Linked DNA regions of Homo sapiens: region 1 is linked to region 2. Evidence: promoter capture Hi-C in 16 types of primary human blood cells and fetal thymus (Javierre and others, 2016). All regions are on one chromosome and are shown on one strand. Each heading gives the region's core, a stretch centred on a gene start or on the middle of the fragment in contact. The rest is flanking DNA. Distances are from core to core; before and after follow the strand shown. Region 1 holds the start of MBD1 (methyl-CpG binding domain protein 1). Region 2 holds the start of HAUS1 (HAUS augmin like complex subunit 1).

Region 1 (5,968 bases), core at 2,187-4,686, 4.2 Mb after region 2:
ATGGTTACTGTGTGACTAACAGGCAGGTTGTGTCTAGAACATGGATATGGATACGGATATGGACAAAGAGATGATTCACCTCTTGAGCAGGACTGAGCGGGATGGTGTGAGATTTCATCACGCTACTCAAAACGGCACACAATTCAAAACTAATGAATTGTTTATTTCTAAAATTTTCCATTTAATATTTTTGGATGGTGGTTGACTGTAGGTAACTAAAGCTGTGGAAAATGAAATTGCAGATAAGGGGGAGACTACTGTATTCTGGATCCTGCAACTGTTGTAATAAACTGTCTTTGATCTGTAACCCAGGAGTCTTACCCCTCCTACCAGCATCTACAAAATTCTGACAAATTCACTATTATCTTGTCCTAAGAATGAAATCTCAGGTTCTTTATAGTTCTTGACAACTGCACTTTTAAGTTTTGAAAGTTTTATACAAGTACATAAATATGTGAATAAATTATAACTAAATATAAACAAAAAGTAATTTGTAATTTGATATTTACCTGGAAAGATAGCAACTTAGATTTAAAAAATCAGAAAGAATATAGAAACTTAATAATGTTTCTTAAACACATGTAAATGCTTATAAACATCTATGTTGACTCTCATTAGTTATGGTAGTTACGTTCTACAAAGCTATCATGAACATTGAATACAAAACCATTGCTCCTAGAAGAAATACAGGGTTAGGTTCCTGAGAGCATCTGAACTTTTGTTTTGTGTGTGTTTCTGTTTAAACACACATTACTTAATACATATTTTTTTTTACAAATGATTATTTGCATGGTCTTTGAATGACTCAAACCAGGGGACTTGGAGGCCGTATGTGTTATGTAAGGTTTTTTGCCAATATTCTTGTTTAACAAGCCAATCTCATTGACATTGAAAACCACTCTTCCACACAACCCCTTTCCTGTACAACACTTAACAGGTATTTTTAAAATTCTTCGGAAGACTCCTGATCAGCAGAACCTGCATTGCATGCAGGTTTAACATGTTTCATGCCATGTCGCCTTTTGAAATGTGCAAGTCAGCCAGCACTAGCTGATATAACCTTAATATTTTCCTAACCCAGGGTAACATGACTTTGGCTTTCCTCAACAATGCTGTCAACTATGCTTTATTGATCGTCATTTCATGAACCCACCAATGTAGCTGCTTTCTCATCTCTTACATAGCTTCAAGACTATAAATGCTTTCTGTACTTTCTGAAGCAGCTTTGTGCACATATTGGCAAATTTCCTTCTTTTTCTGGTTGTACCATAATTCTGATGCATAACATTGAACTTACAGCCAACAGCATTGTAACTCAGATAACCAGCAAAGTTTATCTGCCTTGTATTTTCTCCATAAAGCACGACATAGTCTTCTCACAGAACACTAAACAGCACCTCAGCACTATGCTTGGGGACCATTTTAAAAAGCAAAATCACCAAAAAGTACAAAAATTAGAAAAATGTGACACTAAACAGACCACGAAAAGGACACCTGTTTACAGTATTAAAGCTGAAAAGGGCTCCTTCAGCCTCAGCTAGAAATACATGCATTGAGTGACAGTTTTTCACTGCTCTGTACGTATTCTTGAATAATCACAAATGCACTGTGAGTAGTGACTTTTAAGTTACAAATAAATTTTATTAAGTAGGTGAAATTCAAACATAAAATCCGCTAATAAGGATTAACTGTATGTGCATAATTTAAACTTCATCCATAAATTTAACCACACCATTTGATTTTACCAGAATCAGGCTCTACCCCACTCCTGACTCTGCCCACTACCCACCCAGTACCTCTGGTAATAGGTGTCTGAGCGTCCACAGGTGGCCCCTGACTTGCGAAAGACTTCGCGGCGCTTCCAGCCAGGGCCCAGGGCCGGGCAGTCCAGCCAGTCCTCAGCCATGGAGGCCACAGGAAGCAGCAGTAGCCTGAAAGGGGGTGGAAGGGATGAGGGAAACTGAGGCTCTAGGAAGGGACAACACTGTGCCCCAGGCCACACAAATCACTGGTATCCATTAGTGCTTGCCCAAGCCCTAGGACCTGCCACAGGCAACCAGCCCATATATGGAAAAGAAACCCCTCATATTCTCACCCCATTCTTTCCTATTCTGGGCCTAGGATATCATCATTCCTCAACCCAAGGATCCCTGTTTCTTATTCTCAGTGTCCTAATCCCCTACTCCTCTCTATCCTCAGACTGACAACCCATCATTTCTCCTCACTGCCAATCCAGAAACTTTTCATCCTTCCCCCTCATTCCTCCCTGTCACTGACCTAAGGGCCTCTATCCCTCTATTTTATCACCCCAAGACCCCCATAGTCCCCATCCTCAGCCCCAAAGGGCCCCATTTCTCTTGCCCTCACTACTTGACTTCAGTAGTCTCTCATTCCCCCCTTCCTTGACCCAGGAGTTCCTAATTTCCCTCCTTCAGTGTTTTAACCACTCCATTCCTTCTCTGCCTGATGTCCTCTTATCCTGCTACCTCAGTGTTACAACCTCGACTTCCTCTGCGAGACACAACTGCTCCAACCCATAGCCTGAACAGCCCCTCATCTTTTCCATTCCTCACACTGGAAGCCTCCCATGCCTCCCCTTCCTCAGCCCAAGACCTCCCCCCTTATTTTTCTTCTCCTTCAATGTTCTCACCCACAATTTCTCCCTAGTCTGAGCTCCCAAACCTTCCTCTACAGCCAAAAAGTTCCCCACTTCTCCTCCTTACTGTTCTCATCCTCCATTCCTCCCTTATCATCCAGAGAGACCCTAATTTCTCCCCTCAGCATTCCGAACCCTCCTCCATTCTCTCTGTTCTTGTCCCGGGATCATGCCATCCCTAACTGTCACCATTCTGATCCCCTACTGCTCCTCGTCCTCTATATGGGGCCTCCTATTCCTCCCTTTCAGCATTCCAAAGCCTCTATTTCTCCTGTCATCAGCCTGAGGGCCCCTCATTTCTCCCTCTCAGAGTTCTGAACCCCCATTTCTCTCTCAACTTCAGATGCCCCGATGTCTCCCTTTAGCGTTCTGATCTCCACCATTCCTCTCCGTCCTCGTCCCAGGATCCCGACACTCCTACCTGTCAGAGTTCAGAGCTGCATTCCTTCCCGTCCTCAGCCTAAATCCCCCCATTTCTCCTCGTCAGTATTCCGACGCCGCCATTCCTCCCCCTTATCGGCCTGAGGGCCCTTCATTCCTCCCCGTCAGCGTTCTGAGCCACAATTCCTTCCCATCCTCCGCCTGAGCGCTCTCCACGTCCAGCCCCAAGGCTGTCTCACCAGTTTGGCACCAGGCCGGTATCTTCCGCCACTCTAGGCCCGTGGACCCATGGCGAGGGTCCCTCCTGCACCTCCCGCCTCGCCCTCCTCCCCTTCCTCCTCCTCCGCGGCCGCCTCCTCTGAAGCGGTAGCTGTCGCCTCCGCGGCTGTTCGTTGCTCCCGGAACCGGAAGTCCGCTGCCTGCCTCTCGGGCTCCGCCTCTGGCTAAGCACCTGCGCACTATTGCCTCGATGTCGCGTGCCCTTAATAGGGAGGCTCCCGCGCCTACGGGCCGGCGCTCCGCAGCGGTGCGCGCGCCCCCCTGCCGAGAGCCAGTTGCATCTGCGTGCTGACGTTCAACGACAGCTAACCCCTTCGAGGGACTGGCAGTTGCGGCTCTCCTCGCTGCCCATCTAGCTGGCGCATGCGCTTTCCAGCCTCAACCTGAAGGGAAGCGGTCGGGGAGGGCTTGCGCCTGCGCCCTCCCTTCCCTCCCGCGGTCTCCACAGCCGATACCGAACGCGGCAAGGAAGCTGCTTCGCGCCTGCGCACTCCCTGGCCCTGCCGGCGCTCTCCTCTCCCACCTCTCGCTGGGGTCTATCCTGTGTTCGTGGGTCCCTCCGAACATCAACCCCAGGGGGGGTCGTGTCCCGCTCCCTCCTCCCCGCCGAACAGCTGTGGGAGCGCGCGGGGCGGGGAAAGGGGCGGTGCCACACCGCAGGTAAACTGAGGCACGCGGGAGGGCGCGCCCCTGCAGGAGGCGGATCCCCAACGTGGGGCTTGTGGGGAAAAGGCGGGGCCTGGCGTCCACAGCGGACGACAGCTCTGGGTGGGAGACAGGAGCATGCATGGGCGGTGTCACCACACTGAAGGCGCGCTGCGTAGACCCTCTGCCCGTGGGAGGCTGGGAATGTGGGTCCCTGGGCTCTCGCGGGGTGCAGGCGCCCCCCATCTTATCCAGAAGTCTGGAACAGTTGCAACCGCAGCAATGTGGAGACAGCTTCCTTGGTTTCTTCAAAATTTTATTAACAAAACCCAGGGAGAGGAGGCAAGGATGAGTGGACTCCGCAGCCCCACCAGGCACTGAACATGTCGACGGGGACAGTCCCTCTGATAAAGGCAGATGGGCGGTCAACCGGTGGATGGGCACAGGGAGAACCGGAGAAACAGATGAGTGGAGGAACGGACACACGGGCACCGGGCGGCTCCCCCATCTGGAATGCAGGGTGTAAGGGGTCCGGGCCAGGAGGCTCAGCGGTCGGCACTGGAGCGCAGGTCGGTAGTGAGGGGATCGTGCTGGATCGTCTGGTGCAGCATCAGGGCCAGCAATCCCGCGCGGTTTGTCATGGCTGTGCGCACATTGCGCTCCTGCTCAAACAGCTCGTCCAGCTTGTACCACTGCCAAGGGAGCGGCAGGAGTCCTAAGCAGGAACACCTGCAGCCCCGCCTGCCCCGGCCACGTCCGACATGGAAACCTACCACATGCAGCACCAAAACCGCACAGAAACCTACCACACGCACGCGCTCCAAGTCCACTTCCGCACGCCGCAGCTTCTCCCAGCAGTAATGGCGATTGCACTGGCGCTTGGGCAGGCGGCAGAAGTCACCCGTGAGCTCAAAGACATCACGTACAAGGGGGCACCCGCATACCTCGTCAGCTGGCACCTGCAAGGAGGCCAGGTTGGGGGGATGAATAGCGGTGATAAGGGAGAATAGGAATGGGGGCTCAAGGAGGGAGAAGGAAAAGAATGGAGGGTTCAGGGAACGGTGAGGAGGCATGGAAAAGGAGGAATGGAGGGTGAAGCAGCAGGGAAGCTGAGAGGAAAAAGTGAAGGAAAAGTGAGGTGAGGAAGGAAGGGATGAATGTGGGACAGCGAGGCAGGGAGGAGGGGCAAAATGGGAGGAGCTGAGGGAAAACCTTACTTTGGGGTCCCGTGAGTGCTCGGGGCACAGCACCTGGAGCCGCTTACAGTATGTTTTGCTCTGAGGATTATACACATCACAGAAGAGTCGTGTGGCCCTGGGGATTTGGAGTAGAGAGGGCAGTAGAGGGAGGGAAGGGAGGTCCATCTGTCCTGGCTGGTTGCCCGTATCCTGCCCCAGCTCCACACACATCCCACTTCTGACCCCCGCCTTAACCCCCCACCTCTCACTGCGTGGCACCCTCACTTACCCTTCAATGCGTGTGGGGTACATGGACCCAAAGGACGTCTGGCTCTCATACTGGAGGGATGAGCACAAATGGAGGGAACTGTGGATGTGCGCTGCATGCCCTCCCAAGACACCACCCAGACAACAAATCTGTCCCCCACTGGCCCACTGATGTTCCCACATGGTCCGCCCCCTCAGTCTGACACCCCAACCTTGGCGTAGCAGCGCTCCATGTGGCGCAAGGCAACACGTGGGTTGATGGGGTGCCCACAGGAAACACAGAAGATCTGCAGGTCTGTGTCATCACTGTCACCCTCGTTGCTCTGCATGGAATGGAAGGAACAATAAGGCTGGGAAGGACAAAGTACAGGCCCTGCTCTGCTGCGCCCCTGCTTGCTCACCTCCTCATCCTCGCGCACAGCCTGCTGCTTGGCACGTAGAATGATGGCCTCAAGCTCATGGAATCGGCGTTCCATTTCCTGAAGGCGAGTGCGGGCACTCTGCTGCTCTCGGCGAATGCGTTCGAGCAGCTTCTTGCCGTGCTCTTCAGCAATGCAAGGGC
Region 2 (5,451 bases), core at 1,872-4,371:
TCGTTTCTAAAAACAACAAGGCCGGGCATGGTGGCTCACGCATGTAATCCTAGCACATTGGGAGGCCAAGGCAGGCAGATCGCCTGAGGTCAGGAGTTCAAGACCAGCCTGGCCAACATGGCAAAACCCCGTCTCTACTAAAAAATCAAAAATTAGCTGGGGGTGGTGGTGCACACCTGTAACCCCAGCTACTCAGGAGGCTGAGGAAGGAGAATCGCTTGAATCCAGGAGGTGAAGGTTGCAGTGAGCCAGGTGGAGGTTGCAGTGAGCCAAGATTGCGCCTCTGCACTTCAGTATGCGCGACAGGAGTGAGACTATCTCAAAACAACAACAACAATAACAACAAAATTAGCCGGCATGGTGGCTCACACCTGTAATCCCAGCACTTTGGGAGGCTGAAGCAGGTTGATCACTTGAAGTCAGGAGTTCAAGATGAGTCTGGCCAACATATCGAGATCCCTGCACCCCCTGCCCCATCTTTAGCTGGGCATGGTGGCACATGCCTGTAATCCCAGCTATTTAGGAGGCTGAGGCACGAGAATCACTTAAACCTGGGAGATGGAGGTTGCAGTGACCACTGCACTCCAGCTTGGGCAACACAGTGAGATTCTGTCTGAAAAAAAAAAAAAGGCCGGGCATGGTGGCTCATGCCTGTAATCCCAGCACGTTGGGAGGCTGAGGTGGGCGGATCACGAGGTCAGGAGATCGAGACCATCCTGGCTAACATGGTGAAACCCTGTCTCTACTAAAAGTACAAAAAATTAGCCGGGTGTGGTGGCGGGCACCTGTAGTCCCAGCTACTCGGGAGGCTGAGGCAGGAGAATGGCGTGAACCCGGGAGGCGGAGCTTGCAGTAAGCCGAGATTGCTCAACTGCACTCCAGCCTAGGCAACAGCACAAGACTCCCTCTCAAAAAAAAAAAAAAATTGCAGGGATATTTTGTAAAATTTGTAGTGATAAAAGTGGACAAAAGACATAAAGATAACTTTTTTTGCCCCATACTGAAGGGCTGCACCAGTTTATCTGAAATTTGGTTACAGAGCAGAGATATATTTAGTTTTTGTTTTTTTTTGTTTTTTGTGGTGGATTCTCACTCTGTCGCCCAGGCTGGAGTGCAGTGTCTCAATCTCAGCTCACTGCAAACTCTGCCTCCAGGGTTCAAGTGATTCTCTTGCCTCAGCCTCCCAAGTGGCTGGGATTACAGGCACGTGCCACCATGCCTGGCTAATTTTTGTATTTTTAGTAGAGATGGGGTTTTGCCATGTTGGTCAGGCTGGTCTTGAACTCCGGACCTCAGGTGATCCACCTGCCTCGGCCTCCCAAAGTGCTGAGAATATAGGTGTGAGGCACCGCATCCAGCCAGAGCAGAGATATGTTTGAAGCAAAAAGAATAAGCAAGACAGGCTGGGTGTGGTGCCTCATGCTTGTAATCCCAGCACTTTGAGAGGCCCAAGTGGGAGCATCACTTGGGGCCAGGAGTTCAAAAACAGCCTGGGCAACATAGTGAGACCCTCTTTCTACAAAAAATACAAAAAGTTAGCTGGGTGTGGTGGTGCACGCCTATAGTCCCAGCTACTAAGGAGGCTGAAGCGGGAGGATTGCTTGAGCCCAGGAGTTCAAGGTTGCAGTGAACTGTGATCACCACTATACTCCAGCTTGGACGAAAGAGCAAGACCCTGTCTCTAAAAATAAAATAAAATAAATAATAAATAAGCTTGGCTTGCTAGTAAGTTTCCTTTGAAAAGAAAATCATTTTAGGCTGGGTGTGTTGGCTCACACCTGTAATCCTAGCTCTTTGAGAGGCCGAGGCAGGCAGATCACTTGAGGTCAGGAGTTTGAGACCAGCCTGATCAACGTGGTGAAACCCCCCGTTCTACTAAAAATAAAAAAATTATCCCTGCATGCTAGCACAAGCCTGTAATCCCAGCTACTAGAGAGGATGAGACAGGAGAATTGCTTGAGCCTGGGGACGGGGGTTGGAGGTCGCAGTGAGCCAAGATCATGTCACTCTGCACTCCAGCCTAAGCGACAGAGAAACACTCCATCTCAAAAAGAAAAGAAAAGGTCGGGCGCAGTGCCTGTAATCCCAGCACTTTGGGAGGCCAAGGCGGGCGGATCACCTGAAGTCAGGAGTTCGAGACCAAGCTGGCCAACCTGATGAGATCCCATCTTTACTAAGATACAAAAAATTAGCTGGGCGTGGTGATGCACACCTGTAATCCCAGCTACTCGGAAGGCTGAGGCAGGAGAATCGCTTGAACCCGGGAAGCAGAGGTGGCAGTGAGCTGAGAGCCGAGAGCCGAGATCGTGCCACTGCCCTCCAGCCTGAACAACAGAGACTCCATCTCAAAAAAAAAAAAAAAAAAAAAAAAGCTGGGCGCGCTGGCTCACGCCTGTAATCCCAGCACTTTGGGAGGCCGAGGTGGGCGGATCATGAGGTTAGGAGTTCGAGACCAGCCTGGCCAATATGGTGAAACCCCGTCTCTACTAAAAACACAAAAATTAGCCAGGCGTGGTGGCGCTTGCCCGTAGTCCCAGCTACTTGGGAGGCTGAGACAGAAGAATCGCTTGAACCCAGGAGGCAGAGGTTGCAGTGAGCCGAGATCATGCCACTGCACTCCAGCCTGGGCGACAAAGCGAGACTCTGTCTCAAAAAAAAAAAATGTCCCTAGTTTTTAGGTTGGGGGAACTAACGGATCAAGTTAAGATTGCCTCAGCTCATATTGCCAGGGTAGAATATAAATTCTGAGTGGATGCAATCAATGTGGAAGAAACACAAACATCTTGCTAAGCAAGAACCAAACGTTTCAAGTACTTTTTTTTAACGACAAGTGATTCAAACAAGAAATAAAAATAAAAGAAAGAAAAAACAACCTGGTTCTAGGCGGCTCTATCTCTCGTAGTGTTGATTATACCGCGGAAGGCGGGAAGAGCTGGGAAGTGGCAACGAAGCGAGGCTTGCAATGCCAGAGCCTTCGACCAGCCTTGCACAGGGGCTCAACGGCCAGGAGTCTCAGGTAAAACCACAACTCCCAGAAATCCCGGGCCCGGCGAGGGGCGGGTGCCAACGGCGTGTGGGCGGGGCCTAGGGAGTGAGCGGGGCGCATCTCCCGCTAGGAGTTCCTAGTAAAGTGGCGGGAGCCGCAGCTATGGAGCCGCAGGAGGAGAGAGAAACGCAGGTGATGGGGCGGGAATGGGGATCGTTGGCCTCCTGGAAAACGCGTTTTTGACACCCCCGCGCCGACAGCGGGTCTCCTGTGCGCGCCACGTCTACTTTTCTCTCCCCTATTCCACACATCCGTCTTTTAGTGCCGCCGTCACTATCTGCAAGCCCCCCGTGCTTAGACTCTCCTGAAGGCCTTTCCCTTCCTGCCCGGGCCTCCCCTTGTTTGGATCTGGCCCGGGAGAGGCGTTGAGCAGCCCGTGTCCACAGACTCTGGAGTGGGACTTATGAAGCCAAACCCGCCTTCCGGTTCGCTGCTCAGCCCGGCGGCTTCCACATCTGAACTGCTTCCGCGCCCTGCATCCCAACACTGGGAGCCTCCCGGCGCGGCGGGGCTTCTGGTGATCGAGGGACAATTGCTTTTTTCAGACCATGCACGGTCTAATAATGCGTTCGCATTATTATGGTCTATTAAGCTTTAAGGTTTTTCAAGCGAGGCAAATTGTTAGCCTGTACCGCTTTTGCAGATTTGGAAAAGAACGGATTGTTCTCTGGTAATTTTCAGTATTGTACGTTTCTTTGTGTACTTGCTCACTTTTTATTTCCTGATATCTAGTATCTCCCTAAAGACAAGTGAGGTTGTGAAGTAGGACTCCAAAATAGTCACAGAAAGCATTTAGTTTGCTTTTGATCACTTCTTTGTCATATTCTCATCGAGCCATTACAGTAAACAAGGCTTATAATATTTGTCTTTCTTTTAATGGTTAGGTTGCTGCGTGGTTAAAAAAAATATTTGGAGATCATCCTATTCCACAGTATGAGGTGAACCCACGGACCACAGAGATTTTACATCACCTTTCAGAACGCAACAGGGTCCGGGACAGGGATGTCTACCTGGTAATAGAGGACTTGAAGCAGAAAGCAAGTGAATACGAGTCAGAAGGTGAGATTAAGTCCAGAGTTTTGAACGAGAATAAATAGAGGTAACCAAATTTTATAACACTAAAGTATACAGGATTAATTTACTGTAGACTACTTGTTTTGCTCCTTTATTTTTCCCAGATTTTCTTCCACTCTGTTATAGTAGTAACTTTATTGTTTTATGTTTATATATATGTATATGTATGTGTGTGTGTGTGTGTGTGTGTGTGTGTGTGTGTGTGTGTGTATATATTTTAGACAATCTTGCTCTGTCGCCCAGGCTGGAGTGCAGTGGTGTGATCTCAGCTCACTGCAACCTCCATCTCCTGGGTTCAAGTGATTCTCATGCCTCAGCCTCCCAAGTAGCTGGGACTACAGGCCTGCACCACCACACCCGGCTAATTTTTGTGTTTTAGTAAAGACAGGGTTTCACAATATTGGCCAGGCTGGTCTCGAACTCCTGACTTCAGGTGATCCGCCTGCCTCAGCCTCCCAAAGTGGTAGGATTAGAGGCATGAGCCACCCTGCCTGGCCAGTAGTAATTCTCTAAGTAATAAATGTTATTATACTAAATATCTTATTGGTACTCTGATAGCAAAACAGTAAGCCTTAAAAGAGTCTAAACTTGTTAGTCTGACACACAAGATGCCTTGTGGTTTTTTACTTACCTATCTGTTTTTTCTGTTTCCGGTCTCCATGATTTAGTCATACGGACCTATCAGGACACCTGAGGTGGTGGCCATGAAATGTGAGACTTGGACGAAATTACTCTATGACTACGTATCAGGAGATTGCATTAGAATTTTCTGCTGGGCATATATAGTTTGAAAAAGTGCATTCAAGGCCGGGCACGGTGGCTTACGCCTGTAATCCCAGCACTTTGGGAGGCCGAGGCGGGCGGATCACAAGGTCAGGAGATCAAGACCATCCTGGCTAACACGGTGAAACACCGTCTCTACTAAAAATACAAAAATTAGCCGGGCGTGGTGGCGGGCGCCTGTAGTTCCAGCTGCTCGGAAGGCTGAGGCCGGAGAATGGCGTGATCCCAGGAGGCGGAGCTTGCAGTGAGCCGAGATCGCACCACTGCACTCCAGCCTGGGCGACAGAGCAAGACTCCGTCTCAAAAAAAAAAAAAGAAAAAAAGAAAAAGTGCATTCAAGATGCCTATTGTTTTGATAATACAAACCACAAAAGTAAAGATTGACAAAAATCTTTTTAGATACGAGAATACACCAAAGAGAGGAAGTGAGGCCTGCATTTGCCCTATATTTAATCAGATGTATGGTATTTGTTACATATGATATTTTGAATATAGTGCAGTTTATATTTGATTCTATTGCATATGTGCTTTTTTCCAGTTTTCTTTTA

Evidence for each region. Contacts are between HindIII fragments. The CHiCAGO score rates a contact against its expected background, and 5 or more counts as called.
Region 1: the fragment with the promoter of MBD1 here is called in contact with the fragment with the promoter of HAUS1 in region 2 in 1 of 17 cell types (non-activated CD4 T cells); the score reaches 5.5 in non-activated CD4 T cells.

The regions. Positions count from the first base shown.
Region 1 is chr18:50,278,087-50,284,054 of GRCh38, forward strand. It overlaps MBD1 (methyl-CpG binding domain protein 1), which reads right to left and starts at 3,437. Exons shown (of 17, transcript NM_015846.4): 1 at 3,277-3,437; 2 at 1,797-1,931. The coding sequence starts at 1,906. CXXC1 (CXXC finger protein 1) reads right to left here. Exons shown (of 15, transcript NM_014593.4): 10 at 5,808-5,968; 11 at 5,619-5,729; 12 at 5,429-5,478; 13 at 5,179-5,275; 14 at 4,768-4,920; 15 at 4,261-4,653. The coding sequence ends at 4,507. RefSeq lists silencers at 3,170-3,249, 3,260-3,369 and enhancers at 3,515-4,095, 4,096-4,676. The HindIII fragment of the contact is 20,722 bases long and covers 1-5,968 here.
Region 2 is chr18:46,101,264-46,106,714 of GRCh38, forward strand. It overlaps HAUS1 (HAUS augmin like complex subunit 1), which reads left to right and starts at 3,122. Exons shown (of 9, transcript NM_138443.4): 1 at 3,122-3,178; 2 at 3,931-4,105. The coding sequence starts at 3,149. It also overlaps a transcript of ATP5F1A not described here. RefSeq lists a silencer at 2,947-3,046 and an enhancer at 3,437-3,526. The HindIII fragment of the contact is 1,925 bases long and covers 1,712-3,636 here.